2 separate regions of the Homo sapiens genome follow, and region 1 is linked to region 2. Evidence: promoter capture Hi-C in human tissues and cell types (Jung and others, 2019). All regions are on one chromosome and are shown on one strand. Each heading gives the region's core, a stretch centred on a gene start or on the middle of the fragment in contact. The rest is flanking DNA. Distances are from core to core; before and after follow the strand shown.

Region 1 (2,700 bases), core at 121-2,620, 63 kb before region 2:
TTTTTTTTTGAAGACAGGCTTTCTCCTCGTTGCCCAGGATGGAGTACAGCAGTGCAATCACAGCTCACGGCAACTTCTGCCTCCTGGGTTCAAGCAATCCTCCCGCCTCAGCCTCCTAAGTAGCTGGGACCACAGGCGTGTGCCACAATGCTAATTTTTTAAAAATGTTTTGTAGAGACAGGGTTTCACCATGCTGCCCAGGCTGGTCTCGAACTCCTGGCCTCAAGTGATCCACCAGCCTCAGACTCCCAAAGTGCTGGGATTACTGGTGTGAGCCACTGCACCTGACTAAACTTTAAATTTTTTTTTTTAGACGGAATCTCGCTCTGTTGCCCAGGCTGGAGTGCAGTGGCATGATATTGGCTCACTGCAAGCTCTGCCTCTTGGGTTCACGCTATTCTCCTGCCTCAGCCTCCTGAGTAGCTGGGACTACAGGTGCACACCACCACGCCCGGCTAATTTTTTTTTTTTTTTAGTAGAGACGGGGTTTCACTGTGTTGGCCAGGCTGGTCTTGAACTCCTGACCTCGTGATCCACCCGCCTCGCCCTCCCAAAATGCTGGGATTACAGGTGTGAGCCACCGCGCCTGGCCTAAACTTTTAAAATTTTAATCAAATTAATACATGCACATGGCAAAGAAGTAATAAACAGCTTATAACACTGAGCAGTGGTCCCTTGTCCCATGCCTTCCATTTCTAGTCCTGCTTTCTAAGGAAGCTGCTTGACTCTTTCTGTTTCTAGTTCCTCTGTTGGTGCCCTCCTTAACTCTAAACAACAAGCTTATATGGCTTTTTTTTTTCCCTGATAAAACCACTTGAGACATTATCTATCAACACCCTGCTATGAAAGGTTAGGATTTAGCAGATCTAGAATGCAAGAATCTCCCTGACCACAACCCAGAGAGTGGTCAGCCAGCCTCTGCTTAAATGCTTCCAGAGACAGAGAGCTTACTACCCCTTGCAGCAATCTGTTTTATTGTTCCCAGTGTTTTTGTTGTAGAATGGCTTCATGGCTCACTTTGGGGTCAAATGTTTCTAGCCCTGTGGCGTAGTTGAACCAAATTAATCATTCTTAAATACTTGGCAGTTAGGAAAAAAAAAAGAATAAGATACCCATTTATTTGAGTAAGTATGGATAAAAAGGAAAAGGTAGAATTGACATCAGTCCCATCCCGACCCCTGCCACTTTCTCCCAGCCCTGGCCCCAGGGAGAGAAGGCTTTTATCTATGGGCTGCACATTCTTCCCCCAGATTGGATGGTGTGGGGTGATGGCTCTTCCTCCTGGCTGGCTTTGTACTGTGGGGTCCTTGTCCCTTGTCTTTCCTGTCCTGGGGAGAGCCAGAGGAGTATGCTGGGGCTTAGGGTGTAATCCTAGTTGGATGCAATAATATGAAGTGCCGGCTTCCATCTTTGTTGGCACTTTCCTTGTTCATCAAGGACAGGAGGCAGCTTTCTATTGGGCCCTCTCCTCAAAAGCTTTTTTCCTGCTCAGACCTGGACAAGGAGTGGGGCCTAACTACTATATCTTACTTAGGGAGACCATTTTAATAAATCAGTGCATCCTTCAGGGTAGATCGTATTGACCTGTCCATGGTTTTCTTTGATTTGTGTATACTTTGAGCCAAACACACTCATTTATCTGAATGCTGAGCATCAGTATGGCTTTGGGGGCCTTTTTAAGGGGGGAAAAATCAGCTCTAACATCGTGCAGAGGAATAGGAATTCCAAATATAGGCTGATCCCTATTTTACCTTTTATTCCAACCACTTAGTTCAGATAGTCACAAGCAGCTTAAAGCTTGTGACAAGCAGCTTAAAAGCAATCTTGCTTTTTTATAAAGTTTCTTCTAAAAATTTTCAAATTGTAAAATGTACATAAGATTTACCATTTATATTATTATTATTATTTTTTGAGACGGAGTCTCGCTCTGTCGCCCAGGCTAGAGTGCAGTGGCGTGATCTCAGCTCAATGCAACCTCTGCCTCCCGGGTTCAAGCAATTCTCCTATCTCAGCCTCCCGAGTAGCTGGGACTACAGGCACCTGCCACCATGACTGGCTAATTTTTATATTTTTAGTGGAGATGGGGTTTCACCATATTGGTCAGGCTGGTCTTGAACCCCTGACCTCAGGTGATTCACCCACCTCAGCCTCCCAAAGTGCTGGGATTACAGGCGTGAGCCACCGCGCCCTGCCCATTTATATTATTTTTAAGTGCACAGCTCTGTGGCATTAAGTATTGTTGTGCAACCATCACCACTTTACTTCTCCAGGACTTTTTTCATCTTGTAAAACTGAAACTCAGAATCTGTTAAACAGTAACTTTCCTTTCACCCACTCCTTCCCCCAGCTCGTGGCAACCACCAGTCTACTTGCTTTTTCTGTGAGTTTGACTACTCTAGTACTTCATTTGCTTGCTTGCTTGCTTGCATGCCTGCCTACCTGCCTGCCTGCCTTCCTTTGTCTCTTTCTGTCTCTCTCTTTTTCTCTTTTTTTTTGAGACGGAGTCTCACTCTGTCACCCACCCAGGCTGGAGTGCACTGTCGTGACCTTGGCTCACTGCAACCTCTGCCTCCCGGGTTCAAGCAATTCTCCAGCCTTAGCCTCCTGAGTAGCTGAGATTACAGGCGCCTGCCACCATGCCTGGCTAATTTTTGTATTTTTTGTAGAGACAAGGTTTCACCATGTTGCCCAGGCTGCACT
Region 2 (2,700 bases), core at 65-2,564:
TGGAGATTTGCTGAACCTCCGAGGAGCCCTTTACTCGGTGGAACCGCAGAAAATGATGGAACTTCCAAATCAGTGGAGAAGACTGTTGGTTAAACCATTTCCTGAAGCTTTGAAATGCATATCTACACACTTGAGAGGTTACCATTCCTTATGCTCAAGAAGCATAAAAGTCATACACAAGCCTAGCTTTGCAATTCCCCTGAATATCAAAATTAAAATGAACCACATCTATAAAGGGGTCAAATGTAACCAAACAGGAATATCTCATTCAACGACTCTTCTAAACTGCTAACAAAATTCAATGGCTAGTACATTTCTGCAAAACTCCCCACCTCTAAAATAAGAGTTTTTCAAGAATTAAAAAACAGTCTAAGAATTTTAAATGGTCAGGAATTCCCAAATGGTGGAGGGAGAAAGGACCTTAGGAAACCTATCCTCACTGCCTCTTAGGTCTAAAGAAGCCTAGGGCTTAGCAGGCGCCCAGGGCTCCCCTTCGACTGAGAGGTGGTCCAAGGGAGGCTGTATTCTTACCGTCTCTTGCTGCTTAATAATCTTGCCCTTGTCCAGCTCGGGCCCCAGGGAGGAAGGGGAAGAGGACGCGGAGGAAGAGGAGCTGGAGCTGGAGCTACTGCTGCTGGGGTAGTTGCTCTTCCCGTTCTTCTCCTGAGTGTCCACCTTGATGAGCCTGTTGATGTAGGTGCTGCAGCCCGAGCTCTTGGTTGCACCCCGGTGGGGCTCCTCCTCCGTGGCCCGGGAGTTTTTGCGGCCCTTGCCCGCGGCGGCCTGAATCAGACCCTGCAGGCTGTCGCGGGACAGCCGGCTGTCCTTGGGGCCGACGCCGGCCCTGCCGCTCCCCAGCTCGGCCGCCGAGTTCTTGCGGCCCTTGCCAGGACCCGGCCCAGCGCCGCCCGCCTCCGAGTTCTTGCGCAATTTGCCGCCGCCGCCCCCGGGCTTGGCCCGCTCCGACACGGTCTTCAGGTTCAGGGGGAACTCCTTGAACCACTTGGCCGCCATGAGGGGGCCCCGGCCGGCTCGGCCCAGGAGCGTCGGGGCCGTGGAGCAGGCGAGCGAGGAAGCCCAGCCCAGACACGCAGAGGCGCCAGGGGTCGGGGACCACTGCATTCCCCGTGACTGGGGCGCTGGAGGCCGCGGCGAGGCCCCGCGACGGCTGCTCCGTGCGCCCCCGGCCGGCCGTCGCCCACGCCCGGCAGGGTGGGGTTCTCACGGCTCGGGGCGCCGAGCGGGCGGGCGCTAGCCTCTGCTCCGGACACGGCAGGCGACAGGCACGACGCGCGGGGGGCCCCGCCCGGGCTCGTCTTCAACGCCTGCCCGGCCCGAGGACACCGTGGCTCTCGGAGGCGGCGGGCGCCGGGGGCTTCCCCCTGCTCTTTCCTCCTGCGGTGGGAGAGGCCAGGCCCACGGAAGCCCCCTGCGGCCCAGCCCACGCTCCCAGGGACCAGAGAGGACCGAGCGGAGGCGGCGGGAGTATCCCCGGCGCAGCGACAGACGGTGGACGGACGGCGAGCGGCCCATCAACTCCGCGCGCCCCTCCCCTCCGCGGCTGGCGCCTCCCAGCCCCGCCACCTCCTGCCCAGAGCTGGGGGCGGCGGGGTGAGCGCCATGGCAGAGGCGGGTCGGGCTGCGAGCTCTGGAGAAAGGGGCGGCGGCCGCACGTGCGGATCGGCCGCGCCCCACTGAGCAGAGAGCCCCCTTCTGCCGCCGACAGCCCGCGTCTGCACCGAGCCGGTCTCGGCCGGGCGCTGCCTTCACACGCGCCCAGGAGTGTCACGTGCGCCGCTCACCCCCGGGAAGGAAGCCCCTCGCCCACCCACTCCGCTCTACTCCACTCTTTCTGCAGACGTTATTTTTGGCGGTAGGGCAGAGGTTGCGGCCCGAGGTCCGGGCGCAGGGACAACGGTCGCCAGCTCCTGCGCTAGTTCCGTTACTCTTCGGTGGCACACGGTCCTGGGCAGCGCGAGGCTCTTCCCGCCGTGGCCGCCGGGGATTGGCTGCCGGCAAGCCCCGCCCCGTGCCCCCGGGCTCAGAGGGGGCGGAGCGCGGAGGGAGAAGGCGCGAAGGCTGGGCGTCGCGATCGCAGGTGCACGCGCGTGGCCCGCGAGACGAGGTATGGCTTGTCGGCCCCAGGTCCCGGGATGCCAGGCGAGGGTTGGGAGGGAGGGGCGTCGGCAGGCAGCCATGGGAAACGCCCTCGTCCCGACTGATGGGGGAAAGGGGTCGCTGTTCCCGCGGGGCCGTCGCTCGCTCGCGCCGGTTGGGAGCGGCCCTCCTAGTCTGGATTTGTGCGGGCGGGGAGTGCCGTGTGCAGAACTGTGGCCACTTTAAGGGAAAAGACGCCTCTGCCATTCCTCCCTCCCTTCGAAGCCCTTTAAAAGCTTTCTGAGGCCGGGCGCGGTGGCTCACGACTGTAATCCCAGCACTTTGGGAGGCCGAGGCGGGCAGATCACCTGAGATCAAGAGTTCGAGACCAGCCTGGCCAACATGGTGAAACCTGGTCTCTACTAAAAATACAAAAATTAGCCGGGCGTGGTGGTGCGCGCCTATGGTTGCAGCTACTCAGGAGGCTGAGGCAGGAGAATCGCTTGAACCCGGGAGGCGCAGGTTGCAGTGAGCTGAGATCAAGTCACTGCACTCCAGCCTGGGCGACAGAGCGAGACTCCGTCTCAAAAAGACAAAAAACAA

The links. Contacts are between HindIII fragments. The study calls those that stand out against the background at their distance.
Region 1: a contact is called between a fragment that was not itself captured here and the fragment with the promoter of TDRD10 in region 2, in 1 of the 25 tissues and cell types used here (pancreas).

What each region holds. Positions count from the first base shown.
Region 1 is chr1:154,437,422-154,440,121 of GRCh38, forward strand. All of the region lies in intron 6 of IL6R (interleukin 6 receptor), which reads left to right. Among named protein-coding and RNA genes, the nearest start is that of IL6R-AS1, 32 kb to the left of the region's middle. The HindIII fragment of the contact is 3,775 bases long and covers 1-2,700 here.
Region 2 is chr1:154,500,905-154,503,604 of GRCh38, forward strand. It overlaps TDRD10 (tudor domain containing 10), which reads left to right and starts at 1,315. Exons shown (of 13, transcript NM_182499.4): 1 at 1,315-2,125. SHE (Src homology 2 domain containing E) reads right to left here and starts at 1,508. Exons shown (of 6, transcript NM_001010846.3): 1 at 532-1,508. The coding sequence starts at 1,122. The HindIII fragment of the contact is 3,684 bases long and covers 1-2,676 here.